7 separate regions of the Homo sapiens genome follow, and all the other regions are linked to region 2. The links are contacts of gene promoters, found by promoter capture Hi-C in blood cells and fetal thymus (Javierre and others, 2016). All regions are on one chromosome and are shown on one strand. Each heading gives the region's core, a stretch centred on a gene start or on the middle of the fragment in contact. The rest is flanking DNA. Distances are from core to core; before and after follow the strand shown. Region 1 overlaps CAMK2D (calcium/calmodulin dependent protein kinase II delta). Region 2 holds the start of ARSJ (arylsulfatase family member J). Region 3 overlaps CAMK2D (calcium/calmodulin dependent protein kinase II delta). Region 4 overlaps CAMK2D (calcium/calmodulin dependent protein kinase II delta). Region 5 overlaps CAMK2D (calcium/calmodulin dependent protein kinase II delta). Region 6 overlaps CAMK2D (calcium/calmodulin dependent protein kinase II delta). Region 7 overlaps CAMK2D (calcium/calmodulin dependent protein kinase II delta).

Region 1 (3,564 bases), core at 584-3,083, 330 kb before region 2:
CTAAACTATATCTATAAAATAAAAGAAAGATACTACAATTTAAAATGAAAAGCTAGAAAAAGGGAACATCTGAACAGTATTACCAAATCATTTACAAATAGATATGTAACAAAAGAAGAGCAGAAACTATCTGTGTCCTATAAATCAAGATTAGAAATTAAACAATCAAAATACCAAATGTTTTAATCCACAAAACTGAAAGTCTTTCCTGGAAGACAAGTGACATTACATTTCTTCAATCTATATTCATTCAAATATATGCTAAAAGTATTATATTTCAATAGAAAGGGATAATTCTGTCTTCCAAGATATAAGATACAAACATGATAAAAAAGTTTTTAAAAAAAGTCCAACAAGGGCAGAAGCACTAGTGTAGAGAGTTGGGAGGATAAAAGGGCAAAGCCAGAGGCAAGTATGATAGGTTCAGATCAGAAACAGGGCTGTCTATGAAGTCATACCTGGGTGCTCATGCACCCAAATTTAAAGTGTGTAGAACAAATAGTCCAGGGCCCAATAAAAGCAAGTCAAAAAACAAGAGCTAAGCCAGCTGTATCAATCACCAGTCATAAGAACAGGGTCCGGACTGTGTTCATCATTTTTGGAGGTCAGGGAATTCTGATAAGCTGCTGACAGAAAGTAAGAATTGTTCTCTATTTTGGCAGCTCACAGTCTACATCTATGTACAAAAGTAAGTGAATGAGAGTAGGTCAGTATCTCCCACGCTTAGCAGCGGAAACCATCAGACTTTCCTCCCACCGACCATCTTGATAATCTGCTGGATTTGGCTCTTTGCCTTGATTCCAAGTGCTTATTTCCCTTTCCAGGGGAAATTTAAATTATATCTGATAAGGGCCAACAAGTTCAGAGTTGTATCACCCTCTCTGAGTAATATCAGACTACTCCTCAGTGTCATGTTAAACTCAAATTAAACTGGACAGAGTATTTATGGGGACCCAGGCCAGCTTTACAAGTGAAAAATAGGCCCAAAGAATAAAGTAATTCTCTTCATGAGATATTTGCAAATCAAGGTGAATACAATATGCTTTTCTGTACTCTGAAAAATGGTCTTATATTACATCAAATTATGTCATTCTAGTTTATACCTATTATTGTCAGAAGAAGTTTGTGTAATTAAGAAAGGCAAGCTCACAACTGAAGTGATTCTAACTTTGACTTCATAAGACGTGCAGACCCTGGTATACTCAGGGTGTTTTGAGAAAGATGGGGAAACAGATGGGTTCAAAAAGAAAAAGACCTCAATAAAATCAGAAGAAACAGAAAAAATAATATCTTGTCAGATTCTTGGCTTAGATGGTTACAAATCTGCCAAATGAAGACAAAGCTGACCTATATCATAAATGGGACAAAAGTTTAAAAGTAAGAGCAAAAGTCAGGAGTCAAAATTATTCTAGAAGCAGCACTTGTGTGTAAATTCAAAGGTAATCTGAAATAGATCATCAGTTCCCAAGGAAAATGAATAAAGGGAAGCCTTGAGTAGTCTCAGCTTAAGTCTAAAATTCATAGGTTACCTAGGTGTGGTGGTTGGCAGATGAAGGCACCAAGAGGTAGGCAGCTATTATCCAGAGCTTTATCATGAGGCAAGAAATCTAGTCAATGGGCAACCGAGAAGGTAGGTAACAATAAGACCAACAGCAAGACTGAAACAAAACCAAGCAACAGGTGTAAGGCTTTTTGTATCACATTAGACCTAGAATTGAGAGCTGAGCTAAACCAGAAATCAGAGTTGAAATGACACTATCTTCCAGAATTAGAGAAACTCAGAAGTGGGAAGCAAAGCAGATCATCACTGCACCCAGATATTTTAGCTTCTCCCTTCTAGGATTCAGAATCTACAAAGTGGCCGGGAGACACAAATAAAGCTATTTGTCAGATCCAAGAAAAAAAAGCATTAGGGAGTTCAGCAGACCTCCAAGGTCCAAGTAATCCACAAAGATGAAGTCATCTCACTGTAGAGCAGGGGTCAGGAAACTATAGCTCAATTGCCAAATTCAGCTCACCACCTATTTTTGAACAGCCTGTACTGAGAATTTTTTGTTGTTGTTGTTGTTTTTTGTTTTTGTTTTTGTTTTTTGAGACGGACTCTCGCTCTGTCGCCCAGGCTGGAGTGAAGCGGCACAATCTCGGCTCACTACAAGCTCCACCTCCCGGGTTCACGCCATTCTCCTGCCTTAGCCTCCTGAGTAGCTGGGACTACAGGCGCCCGCCACCACGCCCAGCTAATTTTTTGCATTTTTAGTAGAGACAGGGTTTCACCATGTTAGCCAGGATGGTCTCGATCTCCTGACCTCATGATCCGCCCGCCTCAGCCTCCAAAAGTGCTGGGATTTTAGGCATGAGCCACCATGCCCGGCCTGAATGTTTTTTACATCTTGAGATGGATTAAATGAAATTCAGATTTTAGTGTCCATAAGTAAAGGTTTATTGGAACATAGCCATACCTATTCATTTATGAAGTTTCTGTGGCTGTTTTTGTGCTACAATGACAAAGAGGTAGCACTGCCAGCACAGCCCAAAATATTTACTATTGGGTGCTTTACAGAAAAGTTTGTCAATCCTTGTTCCAGGACAGAGCTCCCAAGTGACAGTGAGAGATAACCAACCTTTCTCTTTCTTTCCTGACTACTGTAGTTTGATAACTTCATTTGAAAAGCAGCTTTTTGCTTGGAAGGGTAGAGTAGTCAAATAAAGGGCTACCCTAGAATAAGGTTTATCCAACCTTATCTGAAAGGCTAGGTAATCCAGCAAGGAGAAAAAAAAAAATCCATGACATTTATTGATAGTGCTGTTCTGCTTTCTGGAGTATCATCAAAATGCTCCCGAGGAAGGTAAGGAAGCAGCTAGCAGTTTTAGGTGTCTGCCACATAAAAGAGACCATGAGCCCCTCACACTCCTGACAAAGATGATTCAAATGCTGCAGGGTGTATGAGAAACACATCAAAGATCACCAAAAGGGTCTGGGCCAAGATTCCAGCCAGCAGAATAGGAATTTCAGAATACGATAAGGAGATGTTAAGGAAGGTCAGGCAGTAAAAAGAGGTTTGCTGACTCATGTGGTTTGTTGACTTAGCAAGTCAGGGAGAAGTCAATTGTTTGCTCTCCTGTTTTACAGTCTTTAGGTGTGGGCCAGCCCAGGGCCATTGATAGTCATTTTAGCCAGAAGGAAAGCAAAAGCCTGCAGATGAACTTAAACAAAACAGCTGTGCCATAAGTTAAAATTTATGCTTTTCTCTTAATAGAAGTGTTTGTTCCTCTTCAGATAATCTAAACTTGAACTTAAAAAAAATATATGTACCCACACGTTGTTTAACTCCTATAGCATGTATTTATTGAGCGCAGACTCTACGGCAGGTGCTTTTTTAGGTACAATAATAAACAAGAAAAGTCCATGCCCTCATGAAGTTTTACATACTACTGGGTAGAAAACAATCAAATCAACAAGTAAATATACAAAATCTTGTTAAGTGCATCAGAGATAAAGCAAGAAGGATGCTAGGGAGTGCTGGGTGGGGCATGGGGGAGGAAGGCTGCTCTTTCACACACAGC
Region 2 (3,690 bases), core at 947-3,446:
TCCAATTCCAAGAACAACTTCACAGAAGCAAGGGTTCCCTGTCCTGCAACTGAAATCACAAGACATAGATTGAAATGGCTAAGGATTTTCTTCTACCTCTGTCCAGCTTAACCCCTGCCCTTCCTAGTTTATCTTCGTTCCACAGGCTGAATTTGTACATCCAAATCAATTACAGTAGCCTGTGTTCTGATAGGATAGAGTAAAAATATGAAAATGTTTGAACAATTTAAGTAGAAGATTTAGCTACTTAGCAAAGCAGCAACAATATGAAAAGCACTTTACTTAAGCATCCAAATAGTCTGATTTCTGTTGGTTAGTCAGAAAATTCCAGACCTGTGAAGAGCAACAGAAAACTGCAGATGAAGTTTGACTCCTCTTGAGCACTTACCATTGTATTTCCTTGCATTTTGAGAACTGCTTTGCTAATTAAATATGGCCTTCATTAGGGGGTCTCATAAGAGAAAATGACCCATCAAAGACCGAAGCAGAGTCATACATAAACTGGTCATATTTTACATTACTCTATATCTGTTTCGTTGGTTCATTTTCTCTGATAATTCTAGATTTAAGAATGCACCAAGAGTAAAAAAAATTTTTGATCTTTCTTATCAGTGATGGTGAGTGTGAATTCTAGTATGACATCTGAAACAAAATCTGAGCATGCTCAAAAGTAGAATAGATTTGAAACAGGAGACCATTTCTGGAAATCTCTGGTTTGTGGGTATTTATACGTTCTCATCTCATTTAGAAACTTATAATTGGCTCTGTAAAAAGGAAAACTAGACTACACTAGTGACTAGAAAATTAAGATCATTAACATTGTATCCATTTTAACACGGTACCCCAATACCATACATCATTCATTCATTCTTCATTCATTCAGTTGTTCCCCATACTTTCTGTTACTCCCTTAAATTTGGAGCTGGATCTTCATTAAATGCTTAAGATTTCTCCAAGGAATAAATATAAGAAGTAGGAACACTTACTTTCCAGTAATAAACTGACTCCTGGATGGTGTGCAAATAGGCTGGACATAGTAGTTCTCCAGTTTAACTCCTTCGGCAGCGAGCTTGTCAAGAGTAGGTGTTTTAATCTCAGATCCGTGGTAACCCACATCTCTAAATCCCTGATCATCCGCTAGGATGAAAATGAGATGGGGCTGGGAGGTGGAAGTTGTGCTGGGCTCTAGTTTCTCTCCAGCTTGAGCTAGTAAGGCCCCTTCTTCCTCCTCTTCTAAGGCCTGGCCCCAGGACAGGTAACCATAAGTGAGGAGGCAGAGGATCCAGAATCCTGCCAGCGCCCCCATTGCTAGCATCTTTCCAGGACAGACACAGGCCTGTGGAGAAGGCGGAGGCGGATGCCCCGCACAGCCCCTGGGAGCCATTCACTCAGGTCCCAGGTGAGACTCCACGCGGAGAACCACGCGCCCCGCGCCGCTGCGGGCGCACACATGCACCCAACAGACGGTGAAGACTCTCCACCTGGCAAGAAATCCTCCTCTCCTCTCAGCTGTCACCATGTCCGACAACTTTAATCTTCCAGAAGTGATGGCTTAATGGATGGGACTCCGGAAGAACAAGGAGGGCTCGCTCTTCTCCAGCACATTTCACTTTCTCCTCCTCCTCCCCCCTCCCTAGAGCAGCTTCCACCAAGGAAAAAAAAAAGAAAAAAGTTAATATCTCCACCCAAAAGTTCTCTGGAGAAAAAAACCAAGCAAGGAATTGAGAATCACAGTGGACAGGAACTTTTCGTGGCCAGAGCGCCCTCGACGTTGGGGAGCGAGGCTGACTCTCCTGGGAGTGCTGGTACGGAGGGCGGCGGGATCGGCCGTCTGTCCTGCGGTCCCCACACCTGGAAAGAACTGCGAAGTGGACGCGTCGCGTCTGGCTCTGATCAGACAGATAAACTGCCGTAGTGGACCGGCCTCCTGATCACCTTCTCCACTTTCCCAGGGCTATTTTCCCCAGTCCTTTCCTAGGCGTTTGCCAATCTCCCCGACACTCACCAGGCGGCGAAGTGAGGAAGAAGCCGTTTCCTGATCTCCCTCCACCTCCGCAGAAACTCCGGGCAGCAATTCCTTTTCCCCGCTGCTAGGGAGCCTGAAGGCCAAAGCCGGGTCCCTAGCCCCGCGGCCGGTCCGCGCGGAGCCCGCTTGGTCTTTGCGTAGTTGGCGCACCCGGCGCAGGCGCTGCAAACTGCGTGCGTTTTCTCAGCTAACTTATTTAGCTTTGGCACTCCGAGTTCTTTTGCCTCCTCCCTCTTTTCTCTCCAGTGAATCACAGAACGGTACTTTCTTCCTGAGCTCCCCCGGGAAGAGGGGGTGGGGGAAAAGGACTGTTTAGAGGCTCGATCTTTCCTTTTTCTTTTCCGGGAGGTGGATGGCCAAGGCAGAGGAGGCTTTGCCAGAGAGAGAGCTGCGTGCTGCTCCAGCCCAGCGGGATTCCGGGGGATCCGCCTGGGCTACCGCGTCCCAAGAGTGTCGCCTCCTGCCCATCACCCCGCTAGAGGGAAAGGACGGCGGCGCGAATGGGGAAGGGTAAAGCGGGCACTTCTTTTCGTGGGGCTGTTGGTGAAGAGCCCCGTCTCCCATCCCTAAAGTTGCGCTTGCAAACTTTTTCTAGCTTCTGGAGGGAGTGAGAGAGAAGGAGCAGGAATAAAAACAAAATGCGTATGACACTCTTTCCTCTTTCCAACTTCCTTTGCAGGTTTTCCTTTACTAGTCCCCCCACCCCCATCATTTTCCTATTCCTTTTGTCCCTACCTTTTTTTTTTTTTTTTTCAGTAACGATGACAAATTTTTAAGTTTTATTTCCTCTCCCAATAGCTGGCTTTTACAGCCTGATTCTTCGTTACCCTTTCCCTATGTGAAAATACTGGAATTGCCCGCTCCCTCTTACCTCTCCCCTAACTTACCCACAGGGTGTCTCCAGCCAAAAGCCTGGAGAGGAAGAGTTATGCATTTCTCCTTCAAGAACCCCGAAGCCAGTCTGCATTCCTGCATTAAAGAAGCCAGTGTTTCCCATCCAGTAATTCAGGGAGCTTCATCATTTTTTTTCCTTCTTTCTTTTTTACCATGTGGAGGAAAACCATTGTAAAAACTTATCTTGGTTGTGAAAATACTCTTGATTTTACTAGAGTCATAGAGTTTTAAAGTCCTGCTCAAAGGCAGCAGAGGGATGTATAGTATAGTCTCTATAGAAGAGGCAATGAATGCCAAGAGCCACTGAGATATTTTTTTCTACCACCAAATTTATTCAACAGTTACTTACTGAATACCTACTGTGGGCTGGCACATAACATGTCAGATTCTCTCAATTGACTGAAACATAAATCTAGGTTTCATTTAGCCATTTATTTCTAATTCTCTCCTGTTGCTAAAGTTCCTGCTGAGTTCCCAGGCAAAACTTTGTGAAATGGGAACTTTGAAAGGCACGATGGTGCTCCATGAAGTTAACCTTGCTAGCTGCTGTAGGCCTTCTGGTCTCTGTTCTTCCTTGCAGCCCTTCTGGCTAAGCTGGGGAGAGATAGTCAGTTTTAGAAGCCATGTTCAGAAATGTGAGTTTAGCAATTCTGTAAATTAAGTCACCAAATATGTAATGAGAGTACTGAGTGTCAGGGGATTGAAAAGCATTGAGAGGTAGGGCCCTAGGCTTAATGGGCCTAGCCAGGTGCTTGAATGGGAAAGATGCA
Region 3 (3,863 bases), core at 497-2,996, 490 kb before region 2:
CAGATTAAATGAGATTTTTTAAAAAAGCCCTAAAACATAGTGGTAAAATGTTTTACAAATACAATGGTACAGCATTTTATATATAGATGCAAGACACCAATTGGTTCTATTCAGTAGAATTAACTTCACAAAAACTGACAAATAACATGCTGTTATCAATCAAGTCAACACATTCCTTTATAGCCTTAGAGCTAAACTTTATAAGCAGAAATGGTTTTAAGGTTCTTTGGGGGCTCTTTACAAAAGATAAGCTATTATCCTGAATTATGTTTCATCTTTCCTCATTATTTAGGACCTCATACCTGATCCCAGGAGCAAAAGATGATTCCTGCAGATGTAAGATTAGACTGTGCTACCTAACTTGGAAGTCTTCATGTTTGATAGAAAACCTCCCTGGCAAGTGTCTTTGCCACTAACCTTTCTGGAATACTTTTACATATTATTAAATGCATACGATATAATATTGGAGTAATGTGAGGGCTGAGGGATTCCATAAATCCCCACGTGGTTCAGTGCAGTGGTTCAAAGCATGATCCCAGCTCCTGTTAAAGCACTTAGTGGTTATATGATTTAACCTCTCTAAGCTTCAGATTGTTCTTTTGAAAGACTGGGTTAATAAGACCTACTTAACAAATGGAGTTTTTAATCAGGATAATGTAAGGTAAAGTCTTTAGCTACTCTGTGATCATTTTTATCCCAAGGGTAAGTCTTTGGTAGAAACTATGAGCCTTGTTTATTAGCTATTTCTGCCCACTAAAATCTAACTTTCATGAAAGTTGAAATCCTATCTATGTTGTTGCCTCTGAATATCCAGCGCTTTTAACAGGGCTTGGCACTCAATAGTCCCTCACTAAATATTTGCTGAAAGAGTAACTTACTAAATAAATGTAAAAATGATCAGCAAATTTCTTCATGCCTACTTGTCCTTTATCATTAGCCTACAAACTTGATCTAGACTCATTCATCCTAAAACATAAACAAAACAAAACTCAACCCTCCCTTGACCATGTATCTCCCTTTAGACATAGTCTTAAAACTGGTCTAACCATCTTTGGTCTTATAGCCTTCAAATACATATGCCACAGAATCACCAGAGTGTTCTACCTATGGACATCTTACCACATCTTTCCTCTGCTTAAAACTTTCTGATATTCCTCAGGTGCTTGGTACATTATCTTGCAGAATCATCCTTGTCTATGATGTATGCCTCTCATCTCTTAATATTAGATCAGCTCAAGCTCCTTCATATGGCTCAATGCTCCCATAACTAGCACCTTCCCTCCTCTCAAGCTTGATCTGCTACCACTCTCCAACTTGCATTTCATTCTTCAGTAATATCCTGACTGCCTGCAATACCTCAGACATACCATGCTTTGTTTCTGTGCCTTCTATTGGTAATGTTTCTCCTCTCGCACCTTCTTCACCTGGTTAATAGTACCTTCCCCTTTAAAGCTAAGTTCAGGAGTTTTATCTTTGAGGAGTCCTTTCAGAATGACCATTGGTGAAGAGATATGAAGAGTGAATGAACTCTCTCAGATTAGACCAGCTTTCTATAAACTCAATTTTCAGAAGAAAGTCACAAAAAAGAGATTAAGTAGTTCCTCCTTTGATTTTTTTTTTTTTAAGAGACAGAGTCTAGCTCTGTCATCCAGGCTGGAGTGAGTGCAGTAGTGCAGTCATAGCTCGCTGTGGTATTGAACTCCTGGCCTCCTCTTGCCTCAGCCTCTCGAGTAGGTGGGACTACAGGTGTGTGCCACCATGCCTAATTTTTATAAATTCTTTTTTTGTAGAGATGGGGTCTTGTTATATTGCCGAGGCTGGTCTCAAACTCCTGGCCTCAAAAGATCCTCTGGCCTCAGCATCCCAAAATGTTGGGATTACGGGTATGAGCCACTGGGCTTGGGTGATTATAATCTTTTCTTACCTCAGAACTATTAAGAAAACTCAATATTTCAGTTTTAATATATTGCAGAACTTTGGAAAGGAAAACTCACAGCAAAGACACAGACAGAAAATGTGTGCCATTACATCTATCCAATACATTGATTGCATTTTTACTTTATGGCCAAAAATACCTCCAAGTACAAGAATATTAAGCCTGAATCCTTGGCATGTTTATGTTTTTCTTATACCCAATCTCTGCTTCCTGATGCTATACTTACATGATAGCCAATGCTGTTAAATTATTTTTTAATATAACAACAAAGCTTGGAAATGTTTAGGAAAGCTGCCTTGTTGAGTTTCCCTCCCTGGACTGAACACAACTATTGTAGTTTAGTTAAGTGCTATTGATCACGATTCACTCTCTATTGATTTATACTAGAATACAGTCCCTATAATCCACTCAGAATTAGCCCAGTCCGTTTGAAACTCTCTCAATCATTTGTGTCTTTGCCTGCAACATTATCTTGTAGAATCATCTTTCTTTTCTAAATCTTCTAGAGTCTAGTTAGAAGACTATACATTACAGGTGTTCATAAAATATTTGTTGCACTAAATTGAAAAGTGAAAATACCACTGTTTCGGATGTGAAAAATAAAAATTCTTTATTTCTACACAAGCTCTTTCATTAAGCTCCTCACTGAATAATGTCTTCTCTGCTTTCACTTGCTAATATCTTGCTTTTCCTTACTTTATCATCTATCATATTAGCTTGAGATAAAATCACCTGTAACCTGGTGGGATATTAAAATTGCACAGGATTGAGATTAATTTCTTAAATACTTTAGACCTAATTCCTCCTGACCAAATCAAGGGGGTTATAGCAGAAATCCATAGCAGAAAATAAAATTAGGGCCACTCCACTTACTCACAAAAAGAATCATGATATAGACATATAACTTTACATAATTTATAGATATATTTATTGGTATAAAATAATACAAACTCAGCAAAGGAGACATTATTTCACTCAAGCAATTATTTTACTCTAATAAATAATTTCAGAATTACATAAAATTCATAGTTAAGAAAAACATAGCAAATAATTAGGATTTAACTTCTATATAGAAATGAATGAGCTCAAATATTAATTTAATTTTAGATATTAAAGAAATTTTGTATGGAAACTTTAGAAACATAAAATTTGACCTCATAATAATTCTCACTGGAATGTGTTTAAAGTAGTAACTTTATAGTCCTATAGTGCTATTGATAACATTTTGGATATTCAGGTTGGTGAACACCATTTTTTCCCAGTTTTAATAAGATTTCCTAAAACTGTAGCAGTGTATTGTTTCTTTAAACTTTGAGTTAAATGTCTTTCTGTGACTGCTTGAATAGTTTATATTATTAACATCTAATTGTTTTATAATAATATGTATTAGAATGTATCATTTTATATAAAGAGATCTTACAATAATCTATTAATAGTATTGCATCACAGTAGAGTAGAAAAAGAGCTTAAAAGTCTGTATTATTGATTTCAATATCTACATTCTGCTGTTATGAGGAAACCTGAGCCACAGGTAAATTATGTAACTTGCTCAAATATAGATTTCAGATTCAAATCAGATCCTTGCTGACATTTTATATTTTACATCACTTAAAAAAAGTGATAAAGCCATAATCTGAAAAAATAAAGAAGATAGAAGGAATAATATTTTAAAATTTACACAAACCTTAGATTTAGTAGCTTATTAAATTGGACAATTTTTGTTAGGTAATGGGAAAAAAATAGATACATGAACAAAAATGAGAAAGTTTTATAATCAACATTTATGTAACTATATTATAAAGTAAATTATATTTGGATAACTATGAAATTTTTGATTACACAAAGTGTGAGTCTGATTACCTCTTGTATTTTTAACTCCCACATAAAGTAATATCTATGAATAGTTAACCCATTTATGCTGGAGGTT
Region 4 (3,405 bases), core at 199-2,698, 370 kb before region 2:
ATGAACTGAAAAAACAGAATTATAAGAAATTGTCATGATTTTTACTTACTATATTAACAAAAGTAGATACTATAGTCTTCACAGAGACATTCCACATGTTCACAATTACTGTGAGGATGGGTTTGTTTCCTTTAAAAATGTTTAACTCTTCAACTATTATTCTCAGAGTTGATGGTATGTCTAAACGGTCTGGAAGATAGTGTTTTAGTTGTAGACATCATCTATTTCTCTTCAAGCCTTTTCTGTTGGTCAAAAGTATCCTTCATTTCCTATTCTTTTTTTCCTTTTTAACAGTTTCTCAAGGATTGAAAATCATGTTTACTTTTACAAAATGTTACATTAATTATTCCCTATAAATAACTGTCAATTCATTTTCACACCAAAGGAATAACACAACATTCTGTTCATCACAGCTGTTAGCTCAAGACTGACGGCATGGCTGGCCTTGACAGCACTGCAGATGCTGCATTTTGAAGCATACTGCACCTCGTTCTTTCTATGACTGCTCTGTTATTGCCATAAGCTGCACATATGAGTGGACGCAATTAGCCTAATTACAGTTGTCCCTATGACGTTTTTAGAGAGAAATTTTAAAAAAGAGAATGAGAAAAACATTTGAGAAAACAGGTTATAATACATTTTGGCAGTCATTCTTTTTGAAGTTTGCTCAAAGGTAAAATTACGTGTATGAATAAATGAATTTTCACAACCTGAAACAGCACAACAGTTCTCATCAAATTTTAAATTCTGGAACTTTAAGTATGGAATTTATAAGGGGGATAAAAGTGCTTCTGAGGCTAAAAATAGTTCCAAAGGTTAGCTGACCCATGGCCTAATTCTTTTCCTTTCTCTCCTGCATGTATTATCACATTTGAATGATTGCAGGATCGCTGCTTTCTCTTCCTGTTCTGTGTTCTTGCATTATTCCATTGCAGTTTCTAGCTAAATATTAGCTCCATAAAGAAGGGGTCAAATAGACCATGGTCCTTGTATGATCTGAGAAATTTTAATTAAATATGATAGAAGTTTTCTATTTAATTCCTCATTTCACTTAAGGGGTTAAAAGATATAATAAAACTTATGTTCTTACTGTCAGGCACAATGCAAATAATTTTTGCAAGAGTTATATTATTTAATATATGCAAGCACCACAAGGACATTTTGCCATAAGCTTTTACAAATGAATGTTCACAGGCTTAGAGGTATGGAGGAAACTTCCAGGTTAACAGCAAGTAATTGGCCTGGCTAGGACCAAAATGTAGAGTTGGATGATTCCAAAGACCTTGTTCTTACTGAGAATACTACGTGGGCTCCCTGAAACCTTTCTGTGAACAAACTACTTGCCAAATACCTGGTGGGATATGAACTGGTTTGTCAGGGTAAAATAATATTCAAAAAAAATTCAAAAGAGAAGAAATAAAAAAATTATTATGGTGACTAGAGAAAGAAAAGTAGTAACAAGTACGTAACAGACAATTTCCACAGAAAAAGAAAACCATTTTGACTGTAGGTTTAAAATGTGATGCTATAATTTTGAGGGTACAGAGGTAGCTAGATGATGTCTAGGATACAAAGCCACATTTGTCTCTCTATACAGTTCCTAAAGCCCCAGAAAATTGTTATTTTTCCACTTCAAATTAAGAATATGAGAATTGCCAGTGACTCAGCTATTTTATCTGATAGAACATTTAATGTACCAAAAATGCTAGCAAGTTGAAGAATCTGAAAGCTTACCCAACATACAAAATATCATAAATTTAAATCATTTTCATTTCCAAAAATTAACTTTCACATCATGGACATTATGATAACATGGACAAAAAGGTGTGTATGTGTGTGTGTGCGAGAGAGAGCGAGCGAGAGAGAGAGAGAGGAAGTGGAAATGAATGGGCAAGGGAGAAGAGGGAAAAGAGTAGGAAAATTAAACTCCAAGTAGAAACTGTGTCAACAGTGATTAGGTACACCTTATCCATTTTGATGACACATGTTAGAAACACTTCTGTCAAAAGAAAAGGAATATATTATTTTATTGAGACTTAATATCTTTCCTAAAAGGCTGACAGGATACAAAGTCAATGTTTTCTATTTCAGTACTACTTCTTTCCTCCTCCATTTCTTAACAGTACCCCCCACACAAAATAAAACCAAGGTTGTTAATTATAATTTTATGAAATTATTTATATAAAATATTATTTGGTTCAAATTATACTGATTCTTACTCTGCCATACAACCCAAACTCACTATCTGTTCCTCTTCACTAAAATTTATTATGGAGAGGAGGCAGTCAATTACATTGGTGGACCCCAGTGGACTATGTCTATCATTATTCATGTCCTTGTGCAGTCCCCTCCCACATTACCTCTGGGCTTGGCTATGTGATTTGCTTTGAGTGAGTAGCATGTGTGATGCAAGCAAAACCTTAATATGTTTTCTACATTGGAGCTGTAATCTTGGAAACCACTTGCTGTGCTAAAAGAAAAGATCAGGTTCGATTGGAAGACAAGAGGCCACATGAAGAGAAACCTCTGAGGATAAGAGATAATTCTGACATTCTATTACTAGCAGAGGTCATAGCTGAACGAAACTGCATGAATGACCTCAGCTACAGTAGAGCACCCAACTGACTGAATCCAGTCAACTCATAGAATTATCACAAATAATAAACTGATGTTATTTTAAGCCATTAAATCTGGGATGGGGATTGTTACCTAACAATAGATAAATAAACAGAAAAGACTTAATCTGAAATGTGTGATTGACCACATTGTCCTCAAATACGTTTTTCAATATCATAAGCAAATTTAGCAGAAAAAAAGAATGAGTCTGACCTCAGAAAGTAAGAAAGAATTAGTAAAAATTCTAAAACTGAGCATGGTAGGGCAATGCTGCCAATATTATCATGATACTAATAGAGTAATTCATACAGAACAGATTGTATTATATCCTCATAATCATTGTTTGTCAGCTCTGAGTAATAGTCCTGGTTATTAATGAGGCAGAATTTGCATTTTTAGCTTTGCTGTGTTTCAAAGATTGAGGTAGTTGGATTTGGTTCACATACTGGGATGCAAAAATGGCAGCTTGTAAGTCAGATCCTTTTTATATTCCCATCAGTAGTTAATTATAATTCATAGCTAAAACAAGCACTAGCCAAGTTAGGCCATCTAACACGCCAAGTCTACCCCAAAAGAGGGAAGCCAACATTAAGTTCATTTGTAAATTAAAAATAATAAATATATACATATATGTATTAATTTTATATCTACATACACTTTTTTCAATATTACATTAAAAATGTAAAAACACACACACTAGTATTAGAACATTTTAACAGTCAAATTACACTCTCTGGAGAGAAATTTCAGCTCAACCATTATTCTCCTGGCTTTATTTATGACAAAGCT
Region 5 (3,693 bases), core at 583-3,082, 470 kb before region 2:
AGGCTAAGTATGTAGCAGAAAACAAAATAAAGAATTGAAAAAATAGCTGGACAGTTTGATGCTGCAGATCACTGTTATGTAAACTGTATCCAAACTAAACTGGTAGTATTTTTGGCTGACAAGTGTTCCAAGTCTAAAGGGCCAAAGGTTACCAAGTGCGGCTTAATTGCTGCTCCAGTCCTTCCCCCTACATAAGACTGCTTAGCATTGAACAAGATTTGACTTTTGGGAACCTGGTCCTTTGAGACAATCTATCAAAGAAGGAGGTTGCAAAACTCAAGTAATTTCTTGGAGTAATATATACTTTATCTCCACTTTTAGAGAGTGACGCTTACAATAAAGAAATGGCTTGGCTTCTTTAAGCCTATTATTTAACAAACTTATTTTTACCATGGAATCATTTTGAGGGACATTTATTATGCTCTGATAGTACTGAGTGCAAGGTGCTCTGTAAATTCTTGAGTTAGATACCTTTGACAGTTGTAATCACTTTTATAGTACACCAAGAAAATACTATACTTTTGAATGAACTTAGGTCTAAGAGAACTGGGTTCCTCAATAATGGTCTTCCCTTTTTTTTGTTTTTTGAGACGGAGTCTCGCTCTGTCGCCAGGCTGGAGTGCAGTGGCGTGATCTCTGCTCACTACAACCTCCACCTCCCTGGTTCAAGTGATTCTCCTGCCTCAGCCTCCCAAGTAGCTGGGACAACAGGCACGCGCCACCACACTCAGCTAATTTTTGTATTTTTAGTAGAGACGGGGTTTCACCATGTTGGCCAGGATGATCTTGATCTCTTGACCTTGTGATCCACCTGCCTCGGCCTCCCAAAGTGCTGGGATTACAGGCGTGAGCCACCACGCCCGGCCAATAATGGTCTTCTTTTAAAAATCTTGCATACTAGGATTCCCTATGAAAATGAGACCAAAAATAACTTATTCAAAGTTATTACTTTATGAAATATCAGTAATAAATTCTAGGTTTGAAACGCTGAGATCGTAAATGAGGGAGTATTTATTTCCACAACTCGTGCGCACCCCAGCACTTGACAGATGAGGCTAGTCCTGCACCAGCACTGACTGGTGGCCACTGCTGCCAGAAGCAGTCTTGTGAGGGGTTCAGTCACGGAGGCTCGGCAGCAGACAGCACCCAGGTAGACTGCTAATGGCAGCCATAGGTGTAGAAGGAATCTGTGCCACACATTTGCCACCCCTGAACAATGAAGTTTTTCTAATTATTAGATTTTTAAAATTCCAGAGACAAAAAAACAGAGACTACTTAAAAAGAAGACCAAGGGATAAGAAGCAGAGTTCCCAATGCATGTACCTGAGAAATTCCTTGTAGCCAGCATAGTTGTCAAGATGGCACCCTGTGAAAAAAATTAGAACACAAAAGTCAGTGTTGCCTATGCAAATTCTGGACCTAACAAATATAGAGTCTTTGATAACAAATCTTTTCCTGGCCCTACTTTCAGTTAGGGGATTTTTTATTGTTTGTTTTTGTTTTTTGGTTTCCTGAGAGTCAAAGGCCTTTGTCTCTCATGATGCTGGGACGGCCCTAGTGTGCGGGCCAGATTCTGATTATCAAATTGCACAGCTGTTTTCCACTGAAGGAAGGATCCACAGCATGTGTTGCCAGGATGATTCCAGCTTTTCACCATAGTTTTGATTCTGGTGTATATTCCATTTCCCAAGAGCCCCAAAAAGAATAATGAGAGTATTGAGGTCTACATAATTGAAAGCCTTTGCTAGAAGTTATTTTCCTCACACAGTATTTCACTTCTTAGTCTGTCAAATCTACCTCCCCATAAAAATGTAAAATTTCTTACCTTTAGTTTTCTTCTAGCATTAAATTTCTTCAAGCAGTCTACAGTCTCCTGTCTGTGCATCATGGAAGCAACAGTAGAACGTTGCTAGAAGAAGAGGAGAAAAAGTAACTTAATTGAGAATATTTAAAACACACTAAGTATAATAATGTCCCTGACTTCATCAAATATTTATTAATGGTGCTGCACCTGCAGGATCAACTTCTAAGTATTCAATTGCCAAAGTTACCTAAAAATAAAATTTTAGTTTTGCCAAGACTACTTGTGACCAAGATGCAACACTGACGTATAGAAAGTATAGAAATGGGCCGGGCGCGGTGGGTCACGCCTGTAATTCCAGCACTTTGGAAGGCCAAGGCGGGTGGATCACGAGGTCAGGAGTTTGAGACCAGCCTGGCCAACATGGCGAAACCGCATCTCTACTAAAAATACAAAAATTAGCCGGGCGTGGTGGTGGGCACCTGTAATCCCAGCTACTCGGGAGGCTGAGACAGGAGAATTGCTTGAACCTGGGAGGTGGAGGTTGCAGTGAGCCAAGATCGTGCCATTGCACTCCAGCCTGGGTGACAAGAGCAAGACTCTGTCTCAAAACAAAACAAAACCAAACCAGAAAGTATAGAAATGAATATTAATAATTTCTCAAATTATCTTTATTTTAATGTCTTCAATCACATTTTGATTGAGCTGCCTTTCATTTACTTAGTGCCACATTTATCACCTTAGCATTTGACACATTTGGAAATTTACTGAAGTCTCCAGATCCCCCTCAAATTTCACACTATTCTTCTTAATATTTCTAAAATATATTCAGACTACTATGACCATTATTTTACGCCACTGAAACTCTACTGTCAGCTGCCAAACTTCATACTTGTTTCTAAAGTTGCCTAATGATAAATAATTGAACTTTGTTAAATCTTTTCTTCTGGGACACATTTAATTTTGGTGTTATTTTCTTAACCTTGTTCATGAGTATTGTTAATAATTGATATGGAGAATACTCATTCCTTTTGTTACTGCAAGCAATATTTATTTAAGAATCTATGCAATTCAGACTTTGCTACTGAAAATTGCATTTTTTCACCATCATAAAATTAATTTTCTTAAACACCTCGAGTCAAAAATTCATTCATTCTGAGTTTCATCTTTTTTTGCAAAGCTATTTTAAATCCATAAACAATATATTAAAGGAGAGCTTATTTTTCATTTTAGTTCTTGAAGTTTTGGAGAAGTTTTACTTACACAGATCCATGGGTGCTTCAGTGCCTCTGAGGCTGTGATGCGTTTGGCAGGGTTGATAGTAAGCATTTTATTGATGAGGTCTTTGGCTTCAGGAGTCACCGTGTCCCATTCTGGTGATGGAAACTTCAAAAATATAAATTTATAAAAAGTTTAAAAAATAGACACACTCGATCAAACAGGGAAGAGTCAACTACATGAATCATTCCCTCAAGTAGTGAATTTCTTCATAAATTTACTTTTTATATAAGTTAAGTTGTATCTAAAATAAATAAAACCATTTAGATCTATTCTCCCCCTCTATGTAGACAACTATATATATTAAAGAGTATCTGATAAGGGACCAACATATGTACTGAGCTGCATATCACATATGGTAAATACATTTTAAAATTCAGAAAAAAAGAACTTAAGAATCTTCTATTCTTCTCAAAGTATCTCTGCTTTGATCTGAAAATGAAATTTTATACAATCTTTCTCATAATTATTTGCAAAACTTAATAAAAGCAAACAGGTTGCTACATGTACCAATGTCATCATGATATTATGCCAAGGTTCAAAATGAGGTATTATATACTTTCACAACTCATAAGCAGTAATAGCAGAGGTAATAAAACAGCTTCAATTCCTGT
Region 6 (3,314 bases), core at 169-2,668, 440 kb before region 2:
AAATGTATTGCAAATAACATGTCCAGTTCCATAAGAGAAACAGAATATATTTGAATATTTCTTTTTGGTAAATTTTCTAGCCATCTTATCAAGTATAGTGACAGGGTGTTTACTTCTACCAGTTTTGGCTAGTATTCCAACAGACCAGACTAGAAAATGAAAAGTAAATATGGGAAAAAACAAACAAGTTGGGACTTGAAAAATGATAATTAAAAAAAAAACAATAAACAGCTTCCATAATGCTTTGTATTATCTATTATGTTGTTTCGTATACATACTATGTTTTTTCTTATTTGTAATGGACCTCGTATATTTATTAAAATAAAATTATGTAAAAGCCTGAAGCTCTGGTATTCCACATAATGAAGAAAGAGTCCTGCTCTTTATCAAAATTAAAATAACAAAGCTTTTCCTCCATAAACACTGATATTACATTTTGAAAGATAAAATTAATCAGTAAAAATATATGGGACTATAATGGCAGATCATAATGAATAAACATCAAAACAGGTCATTCATTATTAAAACATGCCTTTACTCCTAATACTTAAAATATATCTGGCAGCTCATCTGAAAGAAACGTAGAACACCACATCTCCTTTTTTCTCAGATTACCATGAAGATTCGCTTGAACTTGAGAAAAGAAAAAGAAAGAGAAAAAAGAAGTATATTCTCCCAAGTTTAGACACTCTGTTTTTCTGTACTTCTGAAATACTGAATTGCCTTAGAACTTAAGATGTTGCTTCTTTTAAAAGTTATTACTCTAACAGGTACCTTAACAATAACTTAATTGCTGATAGCACCATGCTGATGAAGTGGAAATTTTATTGCTGAGCTGTCACTGCTTCTTTGGGACCAGCTTGTTTTTAGAAATCAGTAACAATTTGAAAATCTATGTACTTTTATTTGGATGCTATTGCTTTTACTGACCTGATATTCAGTCCTCTACTCACTGATTCACTAAACAACTCTCACTGAATATGCAAAGAATTATGTCATTGTTTCACACCAAGACAATTTTGAAAACTTATTGAACATCCTTTATAGCTCAATCAAGTTTCTATGGACTATTTCACTCAATCTTATAACAGTCCTGTGAAGAAGTGTTTATTATCCCATTTACAAAGAGGATAGTGACCTCACAGATTTAAAGTGACTTGCTCAATATCATACAGCTGTTAAGAATCAGAGCCAAGATATAAATTCATATATTCTGATTCATAAAGTAAAATTTTTTCCACTACACATAGCCCTGCTCTCAAACTATATGTGTCATAGCAGAGGAGATAAAACATTAAGCTCAAAAACAGACGAGATTTAAGGAGCTTGATTCCAACATTCTTGTAATCATCAAACATAGCTGCTGATGCTAATTTGAGCCTCAGACCTGATAACAAAGGCTTGTCTTATTCCTGATATCCTATCATCATCTTTACCAATTTCTGGCAATTATATCCCTGGGCCTAAGTTCCCATTTTTGTATCCTGCCTCATACCCCAAGTCTCTCATGAAGTGGGGTCCTGCTTTGCTCTACACAGGACTCGAGTCCTGTCTTTGAACCCAATGTCTGGGACTTTCATGTTTCCTAAACAGATTCCCTTAGAGTTCATATTTCCTGTCTGATCTGTATGTTATTTGGAACTTGCTTGCTCCTACACCCTCCCTAGTCAACGCTATCATCATGCATAATTTGAACGATTGTTTTAGTCTAACTGGGTCCTTGCTTGCAGATTAACTATGCTTAAATCATCTTCTATACTTCTACTGGAATCATTATTAAACAACATACACCCAGTTATGTCCCTCTCTTCTAAAAATGTTTCACCAGATCCCAAAATCTCTAAGGTGAAATCCAAATCCTTCAAAAAAACATAAAATCATTTCCTGCCTCATTAACTACTACTCACTCGAGTATACTTTAGCTTTATCAAACTTCTTGTTTTACTGTAATAGAAAAAATAGTTTCATGCCTCTGAGCCTTTCCATGTGCAGATCCCTCTGTCTGGAATGCCTTAATCTTCTTGCATGACAGTGAGCAAAGTCCCATTCATCCTTTAGGCAACCATAAGTGTTAAGGCAATTATTGAACCTCTCTCCAGAGGCAGGTTTTTGTACTTCCTGTCTTGTGTTCCCACAGCACCTCATACATTCCTATGTTAAGATACTTCCACCCTGAATGGTAAATAGTTATAGATACAAAAGCCTTAGCTCCTCCAGGGTCAGGACTTCCTACTTAATTTATGTATCTCTAGTATTTGCTTTGCCCATCTCTGTGATAGCCCCACTACTTCCTGTTCAACCCTTAACTCCTGTTACAATATATTCTTTCTGTGTTAATTGTACTCTTTTCCAGGATACAGAGATCATCTGAATCTCTAATTTACAGACCTAATCTAGGCCCTACCTTCGTTCAGTTTGCAGTTAATGGGTACAAGCTTATTAAAAAGTTAAAATATTATAAACAGAATGACAAGTTTGGAGGTATTAAATTCATCTAGGATTGGAGGGTAAAAAGATAATGTAAAAGATAATATTAAACATGAGAGAGACTTCAACCAAGAATAACTGTCAGGTACTACTGAAAAAGGACAGGCAGCAGGAACTGAGGTCCTGCATTAGGCTGCCAGGGAGGCTTGGCACACCCTCCACTCCCAGTAACAGCTGGGGCAGAAAAGGGAGATGTGGTGAATCCTGGGAGCCATATGTACATCTTGGGAGATGTGTACATTAGGGACTCAGAAAAGTATTTGCATATAAAACAAAGAAATAGCATGTTTTTAGTCCTCTATTTGTTGTTGTTGCTCAGAGGAAAATAAATCAGAAATGAAGGGCATTAAAACAATTATCTAACCTCAACACACCGAAAGTCAGAAGACAAGACAGGCTTGGGGAGAGGTTATATTTTTGGAACTATACATGGGAAGTGGGTTGGATATTGGAAAATGGCAGAGAGAGGCATATGAAAATTAATGAGTAAATAATTTATTCAGACTGAATATTGAAACAAAACATAAGTCTGGTTAGAAATACTATAATTTAAATTTATTTAGAGTTAATTTCTTCCTTAATTGTAAAGAAGCAGAAATTTCATCATATAAAAATTTCTAAATTATCAGAATTTTTGAGAGGAAACTGGCATGTTGAAGACATACAAAATAACTAAGGTGAAATATACACATAAATAGATGCTTCATAATTTTTAAACAATCTTTAAATCATAAATCATAAAGTATTATATGTGAAATATCCTGTGTTTCTTGAGCATCTACTATTTACACAGCAGTTTTTGGCATCATATGAGGTTGTATGCAAAC
Region 7 (3,398 bases), core at 740-3,239, 390 kb before region 2:
ATCTCTTTATTTAAGAAACAAACCCACTCCAGTACTACTGATTGAGAGCTTATAACATCCAGAAGCTTACAGAAAAGCCTCTATCTATGAATATTCGCTGGTTATAGTAATAAAGAGACAAAATTGGTGGTCCGTTAGCTCCATGTTCAGGGCATGCAGGTAAAAGAACAGGGTCATGGAACAAGGAAGGGATACAAAAAACAGTTTGAATAAAAAATAAGACTTCAGAAAGTCTCTTGTTAACTTTTGTTTTAAGGAAAGAGATAAAAACAAACCATTCAAAACTAAATGCAAGCACATAATACCCCATCATCTAAGTTCTGCTAAAGAGTAAATATAAAGCAATATTTTACAGTTGTTCATAGCACTATTTTCAGTGTCAGGCAAATCTAAGTTTAAATCCTAGCACAGCCACTTACTCTGTGACCTTAGGTAAAGCAAATAAACTCTCCTCCCTCAATTTCATCTGTAAAGAAGAATTAGAATAATACTATATACCTTATGGAGTTACTGTCAATGAGACAATGTGTATATGCTTGTCAGTTTGAGAAGGAGGAGTTCATGGTAAGTGCTTAACAAATGTTCACTCTTATTAAGGCCAGACATTCTTTTACAAAATCAAAATGACTTTCAAGTAATTTCACATGCTGATAAAGGCAATTCAGTAACATGCGCCTGAGGCAAATTTCATTTGTGACTATGGCTTTTTACTCTTAGGTCTTATTCACATAGTTAGGTTTTTCAGCAGAGACAACATCCCAGTCTCTAAAACTCTCTTTCACACCGTAACACTCAAAAGGAAGAGCAGGGTCTTTATTCTTAATTATTTTTTGCTTTCTTTAGGAAGAGATTATCTGAACAACTAAAGAGAACTGAAGGATTGAGGTTGCTTTGAGAAATAGTTTCATTGAGAAATAGTTAATATTGAAACACAAAGTTACAGAAACAATGCTTTAAATCTAAGTGTATATGGAAAGTGTTCTTCCTTCTCCAGACTATTAGTAACAGTCAGTTATAAAGTTTTTCCAAACTCTGGGCCTAAATTTTAAAGGTCTAAATATTGCAATTCCTATGGCATGAGGCTGTCTATCATCAGTACACGCTAGTCATAGTCCCCAAGTGTTTTGGGTTTCACAATTATCAGCTAAGCATACCCTTCGAAAAAGTCTGTATCATCAATAATACTAGGAAAAGAAGCCAAATATGATGATGATGTCATCCAGATCAGTAGGTTTCTTTGTTCAAGCAAGAGCAGGCAGAAAATATTTCTTTCTGCCCATGAAAATGCCCCATTTGGGTCAACATTTCTGGAAAGGGTTGAATAGTTTTCAGATTCCAAAATAAGAGATTAAAAAAGCAAACAAAAGAGTCTTTCTTTCCAGAGACTCCATTGAAGAATGCAACCACTGAGAAAATATATTAATCCATGTATATACGTTGCATGTTTCAGTCTTGGCACCTTGTGGGTTTGAGAAAGAAAATGACAGGAAAGACTTCAATTGCTTAAATAATTATAGCCATTAGTATCAGGCTCCCCGGGTAATTGAATATCCTACTTTACTTGCTGGCTAAAAATAAGTAGCCAAATGTTTCTAAGAAAAAGACAAGGTAAATGGTACATACTGATACTTCAAATCATTAAGCATCATAATAATAAAGAAAAATCATATTTCAATTTAAGTACATCATAAATACCATGTGAGACAACACTGCCTCTATTTAGACCATACAGGCATAACTATTTTCATTTCTTAAAACGTATCATGATGTCTCATTTTGCTCAAAAGCAGATACTTGGCTAAACCAAATCTCTAGTTTTAGTACTGACCAAAAATCAATTTCTATGATTCTGAGCATACTAATTAACTATTACTTAGGCAATAGTTGGCACTGAGGCACCATTATGTAACCAAAGTAGCAAGTAGATGAAAGAAAACCTAAAACATTCACTTACAACTCTTTAAACCCTTTGCAAAACAATGCTATATTCTTCCCAGAAGTTTTCTCATGTGCTCTTCTGCAAAAGTATTTATTGAACATCTGTTATGTGCTCTAGACACTGGGGATAATAGTGATCAAAAGAGAAAAAAGTCCCTGCACTAATGGAGCTTACGTCATAGTTGGTAATATAGAAAATTAACCAGATAAATTAATTCATGGTAGTTTAATAGTGGTGTCAAAAAAGAAAAAAAAAAAAAGCCAAGGAAGGAATTAAGAAAAGTTGGTGAAGAAAGCAGATCAACTTTTAGATTGGTGGGCAGGGAAGGCCTCTGTGAGCCAAGCTCTGAGAGGAGAGCTGGGGAGACCATGCAGGTTTCTGGGAGAGGAACACTCAGGGCCAAGGAAAGAGGAAGTGCAAATACCTTGAGCTGCAATATGCCTAGCATGTCCCAGGCTGTGAGGTAGGCAGTGTGGCTGGGGCTGAGTGGGTCAGAAGGAGAGCAGTAGGCAATGTGGCAATGGAGTGTTTTGAGCAGAGGAGTGGCATGCTCTTGGAATTTGATAGGAACTCTCTGGCTACTGTGTTGAGAGAAGACTATATGAAGGTGAGGGTAGAAAGAGGAAAACTAGTTGGGACACTTTTACAGTGATCCAGCAAGCGATGATAATGGTTTTGGCCAAGGGGGTGCTGTGGAGATTCAAGATATATTCAAGTTCTGACAGATTCAAGTTCTGAATATATTAGATTCAAGAAGTGCAAATGTCTTGAAGTTGAGATATGCCTAGCATGCACCAGGCTATGAGTAAGGCAGTATGGCTGGAGCGGAGTGAAATATATTCAGTTTCTGAATGTATTTTGAATCTAATAGGAGTTGCTGATGAGTCAAATATGGTAAGTAAGAGAAGGGCGCAATGAGTCAATAATTACTCTAAGGTTTTTGGACTGTGAGCCTGAAAAAGACGGAGTTGCCACTAAGAGGAGTAACTTTGACCTTAGAGAGATGAGGAGAACTGTTTTAGATATCTTAAATTTGAGATGCCAATTAGACATGCAAGTAGAGATAGTGAGTAGGCAACAGAATGCGCAAGTCTGGAGTTTGGGTAGAGGTCTGAGTAGCAGTTGTAAATTTGGATATCATTAGCTTATAGATGGAATAATTTAAAGCCATGATACTGGATGAGATTCTTAAGAAGCAAGTATAAGCAGAGAATGCATGATGCCCAAGGACCAAGCCCTTGTACTCCTACGTTTAAATGTCTGGGAGATGAGGAAGAACCCGCAAAGAAGATACAAAAGGGTGGAAGGAAATTACCTCTATGGTATGGCCAAATTACCTCTATGATATTTTGAATATATGCATGTTAATAAGGTTAAATGAATATTCAAAAGACTTAAAATATCTTGAAGAGAGGCACAAAATCCTACTCATTTTGGGCTTCAGGGACCAGCACTGTAC

The links. Contacts are between HindIII fragments. The CHiCAGO score rates a contact against its expected background, and 5 or more counts as called.
Region 1: a contact is called between a fragment that was not itself captured here and the fragment with the promoter of ARSJ in region 2, in 1 of 17 cell types (monocytes). The highest score is 5.1, in monocytes.
Region 3: a fragment that was not itself captured here is called in contact with the fragment with the promoter of ARSJ in region 2 in 4 of 17 cell types (total CD4 T cells, monocytes, naive CD4 T cells and 1 more); the score reaches 6.1 in total CD4 T cells.
Region 4: a contact is called between a fragment that was not itself captured here and the fragment with the promoter of ARSJ in region 2, in 1 of 17 cell types (naive CD8 T cells). The highest score is 5.1, in naive CD8 T cells.
Region 5: a fragment that was not itself captured here is called in contact with the fragment with the promoter of ARSJ in region 2 in 3 of 17 cell types (non-activated CD4 T cells, naive CD4 T cells and total CD4 T cells); the score reaches 7.5 in non-activated CD4 T cells.
Region 6: a contact is called between a fragment that was not itself captured here and the fragment with the promoter of ARSJ in region 2, in 1 of 17 cell types (total CD4 T cells). The highest score is 7.1, in total CD4 T cells.
Region 7: a contact is called between a fragment that was not itself captured here and the fragment with the promoter of ARSJ in region 2, in 1 of 17 cell types (non-activated CD4 T cells). The highest score is 5.4, in non-activated CD4 T cells.

The regions. Positions count from the first base shown.
Region 1 is chr4:113,642,943-113,646,506 of GRCh38, forward strand. All of the region lies in intron 3 of CAMK2D (calcium/calmodulin dependent protein kinase II delta), which reads right to left. Among named protein-coding and RNA genes, the nearest start is that of CAMK2D, 120 kb to the right of the region's middle. RefSeq lists a silencer at 611-905, enhancers at 2,750-3,254, 3,011-3,155 and a cis regulatory region at 3,078-3,089. The HindIII fragment of the contact is 6,339 bases long and covers 1-3,564 here.
Region 2 is chr4:113,977,451-113,981,140 of GRCh38, forward strand. It overlaps ARSJ (arylsulfatase family member J), which reads right to left and starts at 2,197. Exons shown (of 2, transcript NM_024590.4): 1 at 987-2,197. The coding sequence starts at 1,384. It overlaps LOC107986305 (a long non-coding RNA gene), which reads left to right and starts at 2,363. Exons shown (of 2, transcript XR_001741794.2): 1 at 2,363-2,536; 2 at 2,920-3,690. LOC124900762 (a long non-coding RNA gene) reads right to left here. Exons shown (of 3, transcript XR_007058237.1): 3 at 3,445-3,514. The HindIII fragment of the contact is 10,512 bases long and covers 1-3,690 here.
Region 3 is chr4:113,484,520-113,488,382 of GRCh38, forward strand. The region is part of intron 16 of CAMK2D (calcium/calmodulin dependent protein kinase II delta); the gene reads right to left. Among named protein-coding and RNA genes, the nearest start is that of CAMK2D, 280 kb to the right of the region's middle. The HindIII fragment of the contact is 917 bases long and covers 1,289-2,205 here.
Region 4 is chr4:113,612,040-113,615,444 of GRCh38, forward strand. All of the region lies in intron 3 of CAMK2D (calcium/calmodulin dependent protein kinase II delta), which reads right to left. Among named protein-coding and RNA genes, the nearest start is that of CAMK2D, 150 kb to the right of the region's middle. The HindIII fragment of the contact is 558 bases long and covers 1,170-1,727 here.
Region 5 is chr4:113,512,005-113,515,697 of GRCh38, forward strand. It overlaps CAMK2D (calcium/calmodulin dependent protein kinase II delta), which reads right to left. Exons shown (of 21, transcript NM_001321571.2): 10 at 3,065-3,187; 11 at 1,826-1,909; 12 at 1,324-1,366. Among named protein-coding and RNA genes, the nearest start is that of CAMK2D, 250 kb to the right of the region's middle. The HindIII fragment of the contact is 4,836 bases long and covers 1-3,693 here.
Region 6 is chr4:113,533,693-113,537,006 of GRCh38, forward strand. All of the region lies in intron 7 of CAMK2D (calcium/calmodulin dependent protein kinase II delta), which reads right to left. Among named protein-coding and RNA genes, the nearest start is that of CAMK2D, 230 kb to the right of the region's middle. The HindIII fragment of the contact is 2,029 bases long and covers 405-2,433 here.
Region 7 is chr4:113,586,704-113,590,101 of GRCh38, forward strand. The region is part of intron 4 of CAMK2D (calcium/calmodulin dependent protein kinase II delta); the gene reads right to left. Among named protein-coding and RNA genes, the nearest start is that of CAMK2D, 170 kb to the right of the region's middle. RefSeq lists an enhancer at 1,673-1,842. The HindIII fragment of the contact is 3,852 bases long and covers 64-3,398 here.